3 separate regions of the Homo sapiens genome follow, and all the other regions are linked to region 3. Evidence: promoter capture Hi-C in human tissues and cell types (Jung and others, 2019). All regions are on one chromosome and are shown on one strand. Each heading gives the region's core, a stretch centred on a gene start or on the middle of the fragment in contact. The rest is flanking DNA. Distances are from core to core; before and after follow the strand shown.

Evidence for each region. The method cuts DNA at HindIII sites, captures the fragments that hold promoters and counts their contacts. A contact is called where the count stands out against the background at its distance.
Region 1: a fragment that was not itself captured here is called in contact with the fragment with the promoter of PDLIM3 in region 3 in 9 of the 25 tissues and cell types used here (aorta, heart left ventricle, hippocampus and 6 more).
Region 2: a contact is called between a fragment that was not itself captured here and the fragment with the promoter of PDLIM3 in region 3, in 2 of the 25 tissues and cell types used here (IMR-90 fibroblasts and aorta).

Annotation. Positions count from the first base shown.
Region 1 is chr4:185,500,484-185,503,582 of GRCh38, forward strand. It overlaps PDLIM3 (PDZ and LIM domain 3), which reads right to left. Exons shown (of 8, transcript NM_014476.6): 8 at 177-2,000. The coding sequence ends at 1,811. Among named protein-coding and RNA genes, the nearest start is that of CCDC110, 30 kb to the left of the region's middle. RefSeq lists an enhancer at 1,818-2,317. The HindIII fragment of the contact is 6,731 bases long and covers 1-3,099 here.
Region 2 is chr4:185,481,043-185,484,459 of GRCh38, forward strand. No RefSeq gene overlaps it. Among named protein-coding and RNA genes, the nearest start is that of CCDC110, 11 kb to the left of the region's middle. The HindIII fragment of the contact is 4,244 bases long and covers 1-3,417 here.
Region 3 is chr4:185,533,798-185,536,926 of GRCh38, forward strand. It overlaps PDLIM3 (PDZ and LIM domain 3), which reads right to left and starts at 1,710. Exons shown (of 8, transcript NM_014476.6): 1 at 1,545-1,710. The coding sequence starts at 1,637. The HindIII fragment of the contact is 14,334 bases long and covers 458-3,129 here.

The DNA.
Region 1 (3,099 bases), core at 113-2,612, 34 kb before region 3:
AGAGAGTAAATTGGGTTGGTTTATGGTTTTCTCCATTGCTACTTTGAGTTTTAACTTTCTCAGGTTTTCAAAGTCAGTTACCATTCCTTTGCTTTCTAAACTTTAACTTTATATCCTTCCCAGAACAAAATGTTTGAAAATGACTGTTGAACAAACATGTATTTTGGATACATTCATTTCTTTGATCTCAAAAGTCTGTTTTATTTTTTTAATAGCTTTGTTAGTGAATGCATGTGTTGGCACAGGAGTTGCAATGTCAAATGCCTACAGGGGCCAGGCACGTGTTTTGGCTCCTCTCAAAATCCTGAACAGGTCAGGGTCAGAGTCAGTTAAGTTTGGAAGAATCCCAGAGCAATAAAACTTGTGTCCCATTTGGGACCTTATGGGAGGAGAACACTTGTTTCAGGCCAGAAGTTAGCAGCTGTGGGGGTTGAGGGGTGGTAGAGATGACCATGTGACACAAGGTGGTGAGACAGAGGGTCTGAGGGTCCCCACCCTGCTGGTTCCCCATGGTTTGAACCTGAGGGGACAGTTTCAGAAGTTCCTGTACGTCCCCAGTGGGGGACATGGAAAGTAGGTGAGAGATGCAAGTCAGGAGCATTGCCATGGGCACCCTGGGTGAGAGGCAAGGTAACGCCATGCAGAGCCTGCAAGGTAGGCTGCCTGCGCCAGGGCCAGGCAGAGTGCATGTCTCAGACAGAGGATCCATGACTCCAGGAAAGCTGAGCTGAGAGTTTTGGAGGTGGTAGTGGAGGTGTTATTATTGCCTGGCCTCAACTATGTCAAGAAAACAGACCACAGATCACAAGTGAAACCAAGGATTTCAACAGTGGATACAAGCAGGACCCCAGGAGACCAGCAGCCCCTGCCTTCCTTAGGAAGTCGTCTAAATTGTTTCTTCCTGGAGATGCCATCTTGGGAAGAGGAGGAGGTGGTGAACCATTGAGCCTAAGAAACAGCAGTGATGGACTTTGAACCTTCAATTTGACTGAATATTGATCTGAAAGAGATATTTAAATTGAAAGAGTCTCTGTTGAAGCAAGTGAAACTTTTAATTTGAAAGAGACTGAACTACCTTTAACTAGCAAATTTCAACGCTTCTATCATCAGAAATTTTGTGCTCATAAGAAAGAGTAATGAGTTATAAAACCTGAAGAAGCCACATTTATCTTAAAATATTTGTTAGTGTACATGTTAAAATATGATTGGGTTCTCTCATTGAAATGTTGATTTTATTTGAATTCAATGAATGCCACTTCATTAGGTATTTTTTAAATCTTTTATGTATTTATTATGTTTGTTGCATCGAGTGGCATAATTGTTTGAATACAAAACTAAAGAAATTCAGGGAATTTCTCCCTAACATGCACTGTAATAGTTAAAACACATACAGACAACTGCAGATTATGTTAGAATACAAGATTGTTATTTGCTATTTACCACAATTGCAAAATCAACTTGTCAAGGAAAGACAATTAGAGTCCTTCAAATATCTTGATGTTTATGTGTTTGATGGCTGTAATATACATGTAAATTGTGGAGTATGACATACAAAAAATTATTGCTTTAAATATCATTATTGCTAGCCCCAAAAAGAGTTGCAAAACATAGCTAAGTGTATGTTTTTTTCACATAGCAGGCATTTGCCTCCCATTCCTTTTCCTCAATAAACAATAGGATAAAGGTCTAAAGCCTTGACTTTAGATTTGGAGTTGACAATCTGCACAATCCTTCTGCCCAAAGCCATGAATGTCTTCTCGTGTAAGTGCGCGTGGGTGGGTGCGTGCGTGCGTGCCACGCCTGCAGAGACTTAAGCTTTGGGATACAGAGTGACCGTGTCATAGCCCTCTGGGGGCTTTGTGCGGGCTCTTGCGTGGGTTTCGCAGTACAGCTCCCCTTCTATGAAGAAGTAGCCCTTTTGCTTGAGGTTGAGGTTGCAGTCGGCACACACGAAGCACTCAGGGTGCCGGTACTTATCCCGCGCCTTCACCACAGCACCGCTGTTGGGGAAGAAAACGAGCTCAAGTTAAAAAACCACAGAGCAAAAATATGAGACAAAGGAGAGAACCCAACAGAGAAGGCAGATGTTCTCTATTTCACAGTCAGGAAACAATGGCCTCCAGCTGTGAAAGCAGGCACAGCCGTGAAACTGTATGTAATTGTCATGGAGATCTAGGATATCCACAATAAACCATCCCGTGTTTCTCTCTGATGTTGACGTGTGACTATTTTTCAGATTTTCAAACAAGTACTTTATAGAAAATTTGTAGGATCCTACTTCATGATCTTTCCCCATCGTTTCTTTGAAGAGGGAGACATGATGGAGACAAGACCAACCCCTCTGCAAAAGATTCTGCTTTTGACGGGGGTGGTTGTCTACCCAATGAAGAGTCTCTCTGATTGCTTTCCGTCTGCGTGGTCCAGCCTCTATTCAATGGAGCAAGAGAAAACAGATCAAAGACGACCGGGCGTGGTGGCTCACGCCTGAAATCCCAGCACTTTGAGAGGCCAAGGCGGGCAGATCACAAGGTCAGGAGATCGAGACCATCCTGGCTAACACGGTGAAACCCCATCTCTACTAAAAAAATACAAAAAAATTAGCCGGGCGTGGGCACCTGTAGTCCCAGCTACTCGGGAGGCTGAGGCAGGAGAATGGTGTGAACCCGGGAGGCGGAGGTTGCAGTGAGCCGAGATCGCGCCACTGCACTCCAGCCTGGGCGACAGAGCGAGACTGTCTCAAAAACAACAACAACAATAACAACAAAAACAAAACAAAACAAAAAACCAGATCAAACAGCAGAGATGGAATTCCTTTGGGGTGGGTGGATTGGCTTCTACTGTGAACAGTTTATTCCAACTTAGGCACAATGATTGCTTCTGGTAACGTCAGGCACTGTTGTATTTTACTGAGGGCCTCTCTGCTCCGAGCTCCCTGCCCTGCTTTGACCTTTTGGTCTCACGTTCCTCCTTTTGCCCTAACCAGGCTTATCCCCCACTGCCTTCTTGGGATGTATCCTGGCTAACCGGACAGAGGACACATCAGTGTGTGAGTTCATGGCAGGAGGAATGGAATAAGGGAATGGGGACGTGGCCACATGG
Region 2 (3,417 bases), core at 459-2,958, 53 kb before region 3:
TACGGGTGAGTAGGTGTCATCATTTTGAGTCTGTCAAAGGCAGTAGTCTCTGTAGCCTCTTCCAGACTGAGGAGTCTTTAATTCAACTTGTAGTACATGAGCCCCTTTTTCTCTTTTTCCTTTTTTATCTGACTTTAAAAGTTAGGAGAGCCCCTTTCTTTTTGATGCCAAACTGCCTTCTAGTTTTTAGACACTTAAAGAGCTGCACTGCCTCAGGCCACTTGTTTTACATTAATAATAATGGCATGTTTCCCCTTGCTATATAAAGTTACCATTAATGTGTACTTTCAATGGAGCTAATTAATTTGCAATGATAAATGCATGCTCCTTGCTTGATTTCTGTTGTGAGCCACGCATGAGTTAGAGGTGGCATTTATGACCATGGAACAGAAAGAAACTTCTAAATTGCACCAAGAACCTGGCCACATTGACAGCGTGCCCTCACTAAATGGAATGGCCAGCCTAGTTGACACAGGTGAAGACAATGTCAAAAACAGAACATTGAGTATTTGAGTATTAGAGGTCTCAGAGATCATCCTGTCCTCCCTCCTCATTCTGCAGATGGCCAAGCTGTGCCCGCATTCCAAGTCCTTATCCAGAGCTCTCTCCATGACAACCTTCTTAGTGACAGTATTACTTAATGTTTTTATTATTCCACACTGCTTTTGCTAGCACTCATGGAAGAAATGATTTTTATTCTAAAGAGAACAAACATGGACTATAACTTATCAGTGATAAAAAATAAAACCATACAATAGAGAGGAGGAATTTTAATAATGTTTAAATTTCATAGGTGTAAAGATTTCCAAACCATCTTACTTATTACTAGTGAATATTGGTGAGTTTACATGCTTTTTTCCTTCTACCTGTTTGGCCCTGTACAAAAATCCAACTCTCTGAAACTTTCCCTCATCTGTAAAATATTTATTTGGCAAAGTTGTTATAAGGATTAGAAATAATGTGTCAGTAGCTGGAAATCTTACTCAGAATTGACTTTAATTCTGTTAGTCTTCTAAATCCTTAAAGAATTAAGAATTGCCTTGAAATTACCATTGGATATAACAGAGTATTGTCAGTGAGTCTTTGGTGGAGTTGGGTTTCATGTGAGATCAGGCTTTTAAAACTGCCCTCCTCAGATGAAGAAAAGCTCCAGTGAGCTCCATGAACCTGATCAGTTTCAGTGTGAAATATCAGCTCTCTTGGGATCCGCAGGAATAGGAATCCAGCTCTGTGAACGTTGCAGCTTGATATAGTTGTGCTCATTTAATTGACCCTTGATTTTAGTACCAAAGAATAATTGGAAGAAAGAGGAACGTCATTTTGGATCTGGGATTGAATAGTGAAAATTATATATAATAATAGTTTCTTAAGGGATTACTTACAGTTTACTTAATAGGTGATGTGTTTGATATTTTTGTATGAATTATCTTAATTCTTACAACAACCCTGTAAAGTAGGATTATCCTAATCTTATGGGTTGATGAAACTGAGGTCTGGAGAGATTTCGTGATTTCCCTGTTTCTTAAGCTGACAGGTAGAGAGCTGGGATTCATGTCACCTCTGCCTGAGTCCAAAGATCATTTTCGTAACCATTAGGCTCTAATACCTGAAGTAAGTTATATTGAAACGGAATCCAGGAGACAATTTTGACAAAGCTTACTGAGAGCTTTGTGATTCCATGAAAACTTTATGATTATCCTAAGTGAAAAGCAAAGAGCCTGGATTCTAAAACCAGACTACCTGGATTCAAATTCTGCCTCCATTTACTACAGGAGAAAAGGAATAACCTCTATGTCTCAGTTTCCTCATCTGTAAAATAGGAAGACAAAGAGTGGCTACCTCACAGGGCTGCTGTGAAGAGTGAATGAGTTCATGCATGTAAAGCATTTAGAACAGTGCTTCGTATATAGTAAGAGCTGTGTGTTTGCTATTGATATTATATCAGCAATGATCATGCATTTCCAGAAAAGGGATTTATAAAACATCTAAATAAGGAAGAATATTTCTAACCATGTTGTTTCATTTGACCCTAAACATTTCTGTTCTTAGGAATGTATATACTTAACAGATTAATGACACATACATATTTATATTAGTGTTCTTTTTAAAAAGAAGAGCTTTAATGAGATATACTTCACCCATTTAAAGTGTAATTCAATGGTTCATAGTATATTCACAGATTTTGGAACAATCTTACAACAAAACAACTTCAGAATGTTTTCGTCACCCCAAAAAAAGCCCTGCACCCATTACTTACCATTCCCCATTTCACCGCAACCCCCCAGCTCTAGGCAATCATTAATTTATTTTCTGTCTCTGCAGATTTGCCTATTCTGGATGTTTCCTATTAATGGAACCATAAAATACGTGGACCGACTGATTTTATTGAGATATGATTTGCATACCATAAAATTCATCTTTTAATGGTATGTAATGTAGTGGTTTTTAGTATATTCATAATGTTGCACGAGCATCACAACTGTCTAATTCCAGAATGTTTTCATCACTACCCCCCAAACCCGTACCCTTTAGCAGCCACTCCCCACTCTACCTTCCCCGCCAGCCCCAGGCAACCACTAACCTAGTTTCAGTGTCTATGGATTTGCCTATTCTAGATGTTTCCTATGAATGAAGCTATACAACATATGGCCTTTGTGTCTGGATTCTTTAATTTAACATATTATTTTCAAGGTTCATCCATGTGGTAGCATCTATCAGTACTTCATTCCTTTTTATGGCTGAATCATATTCCACTGTATGGATTGGCCACATTTTGTTTATCCATTCATCAGTTAGTGGACCTTGATGCTATTTCCACTGTTTGGATGTTATGAATCGTGCTGTTGTGAACATTTGTGTGCAAGTGTGGACATATGTGTTCATTTTTCTTTATTATATACTAGACATGAAAAATTGGATCATATAAGTGACTCCATGTTTAACATTTTAAGGAACTGCAAAACTATTTTCCAAAGCAGGTTACCGTTTTACATTTCTACCAGTAATATGTGAGGGTTCCTTGTTCTCTACGTTCTTGAAAACTTTTGTTATTATCTTTTTAATTATAGCCATCCTAACGAGTGAGAAGTGGTATCTCATTGTGATTTTGATTTGTATTTTCCTAATCACTAATAGTGTTGAGCATCTTTTCATATGGTTATTGGCCAATTGCATATCTTCTTTGGACAAATGTATTTTCAAATCTTTGCCTGCTTTTAAATTGGGTTACTTATTGTTGAATTGTAAGAGTTTTAAAATTCTGGATACCAGACCCTTATCAGATACAGGATTGCAATATTTTCTCCCATGCTGTGGGTTATCTTTTTACTTTCTTGATAGTGTTCACTGAAGCACATTTAAGTTTTACATTTTCATAAAGTCAGATTTATCTATTTTTTTCTTTGCTTGTGCTTTTAG
Region 3 (3,129 bases), core at 460-2,959:
TATACTATAATAGCAAAATATTTCTTTTATAAACACCTTAAAAGTTTTCGTGACAAAATTATTTTGGTTAGAATTTAATATAAATATGATTTATTCTGTGTTAGGATTCAAAAGCTTATTCAATTTAAATAAAAACCATACTCCAGAAACTAAAACATTTCTTAGTAGATATAACGGAAACTGTTTTTGTTGGTAAATCTATAATAGGAATTGCTTGGCCCAGGTCACTGAAGCATTTTCTGCTTACTTTACTTAGGAACGTTTTTGGGGGTATGTTGAACAGTTTTCATGTTTCATATAAAAACACGTCAGATGTGTTTATATGTTTTTGAAAAATGTAAAACAAGGCTTGAAACGTTCCATTGTATGCGTCTGTAGGATACACATTTTGACATATTTTTAAAAGGATGTTGGTTCCCAAATCTCATAGGCATATATAAATAAAACAGAATTTAAAAGGTATTACCTTGTTCAAAATCTGTATGAGCAGATCAATCAGATTATAACACATACAATTATAAAATATGGCATGAGAAGAATACAAGAAAATAAAGTATAATACTCTGCAACTAAAAGTATAATATTCTGGAAGTTTACGCCTTTAGGTATTAAATGTTTTATATGTGATAACTGAAATAATACATTAATTTTCTATGAAGAAAAACATTGTGTTAGAAAAAAACCAGCTAGACCAAATAATGCTTTAGAATTAATTCTACAAATTTACTGACAGGAGAGAAACCCTGAGGTTTTATTTTTACCTTGTTTTCTCATTAGACAGTAGAGAACACCAAGTAAAGCTTGACTTTGACATTAAAGCATTATTTTCCGTTTTAGGCTGAGTGGTTTACTTTGCATCAGGTAAACTAAACTGTCTGCCACGTTTTCTTTGTAGCTAGAGTTAGAAGTTGGTAATTCCTAAGCCAAGTTCTCAGCTTTGGAAAACGTGCTCAAAATGCCTGGAAACTGAGGAGTGAGCATTAGGAAGACTTCCCCTGTCTGGGCTGATAGGAGCGGCTCCAGTTTGGCCAACGCAGGTCGTGCCCCGCGAACAGCGCGCTGCTGAACTTTTCATCCGGACGAGAAAAACGCTCAGATGCGCGCCAGCTCCAGGGAATGCCGGGGGGTGCCAGTCCCTCGCCTCTCCCACCCGGGACCCATCATTTGTTACGGAAGGGCGATGGGGTGTGTTTTATTTCTGTTATCACATATAAAACATTTAAAACCTAAAGGGGAGGAGGCACTCGAGCCTGGCAGCCTCGCCTTCCCTGAGCCCAGTGGCTCTCCTCGGAAAGTCGCTGCGGACCCAGAGGATGGGACACCTTTAGAGCGGACTTTGTCAAATCTCTGAGCCGCTCCGCAGCCACTTGACGGAGTTGCCGCCGCCCCCGGAGCTGGGCGCCGAAGCCCGGGAGCCAGCAGCGCCCCGTCCGCCCGCCCTCGCGCGCTTTCTGGCCGCCCTCGGCCCCGGGGCATCCACTGCGTCCCCCCGGACGCCGCCGGAGTCCCCACCTCGCAGCAAAAGCAAGAATGCCGACACCTACCCTGGTGATGACCAAAGGCTGGTTGAAGTCTATGCCCCCTGAGAGCCTGAAGCCCCAGGGCGCAGGGCCCGGGAGGATCACCGTCTGGGGCATGCCGCCTTCCTCCCGCCCACCGGGCTCTAAGTGTCCCCGCGCAGGGCAGCCACTCCGCGCCGGGCGGCGTCCTGGCCCCGACCCGGGCGGGGGCGCTTTATCCCCGCTGGGGGTGACGTCACCGCCCCGCCGTCCTCCCCGCCCCCTCCCACCCCGGAGAGCTCCAACTTTGGAAGCGAGAGCCGCGCCAGCCCCGCGGGAGTGCGCAGCCCGGCCGGCTGGGGCAGCCTCCCGGGCCGCGGCGGGCGCGGGGGCTTCGGGTTACAGCGTCCGTCGCTCTCTTGAAGTCACACCTGTCTCCCTGTTTATCTTCTGCTTGGAGCGCAGCAGTGCACTTTGTTGGAAGCGAAAGCAGCCAGACCACAGCCTCCATGCTTTCAATTAAAACGAGCATCATCGATACAATAAGTTATTTAGCAGTTTCGAGTGCGTTAATATTTACTTACGACCTCTGCGGCTTTGGCCAAATTACTTAATGTCCTTTTAAATTTTTATTTTATTTATTTATTTTTCTTAGAGACCGGGTCTCCACTTTGTTGCCCAGGCTAGTCTTGAACTCCTGGGCTCAAACAATCTTCCCACCTCAGCCTCCCAAAGTGCAGGAGAGTCTGGCCGGGGTCCTGTGGTAGTCTCAGTGTGGACTCAAGTATTTCTGGTGTTACGCGTTGGGATGTTGTGATTCCCAAAGGGAGAGGGGAGAATGAGGGAAGAGAAATAAGAAATGCTTTAAACACTCAAGAATAAGGGTCTTGGACTTAATGCCCCATATGATAGGGTCGTATTGGTCCAGGAGGACAGAGCTGCAGCAGACTTTTAAGAGGGCAGTCTGTTTGGAAGCAGTTTTAAGACTGATGGAGGAAAGAGAAAGGAGATGCAGAAAGCAGTAAGCAGTAAGCAGTAAGCAAAGCGAACCAGCCTGGGCAAATGTAAATCACAAAGGTAGGATGGGCATTACTTTGTCCGCTGTGGTGGATTACATAAAAGTCCCAGGGGATAAGCACTTTCTAGCTCCACACATTTCCCAGTGCCCCATCTATGCTGGACCATCGAGGAGCTGAACATTGTGTGTCCTGCTGACTGCCTGTTTGGGCTGTGGCTGTATCACTGCAGAGCACATTTCTTCAGTCAGCTGCTGGCTCTGTCTGCGTGGTGCAGACATACACGTGCACACACACAGAGGTCCATTCAGAAAAAAAAAATCAGACAAGTCATTTGGTGTTGTGTAATTATAGTAATTGTTTTTACCTTACTTCACGAGCTGGCTTATATAAACAGCTGATTTTTTCTTTGCCTTTTTGCTGGTCATTTTGGCATCATTTAGATGTAGCCAATATCTATACAATATCCACATAATATCTGATGAGTTCTTTCTTTTTGTTTTTTTTTTTTTTTTTTGGAGACAGAGTCTTAATCTGTCACCCAGGCTTGATGAGTTCCTAAGGCTTTGCAGAGAGTGTGGAAAGCAGGGACATGAGATGGGCAGTTTTCCTAC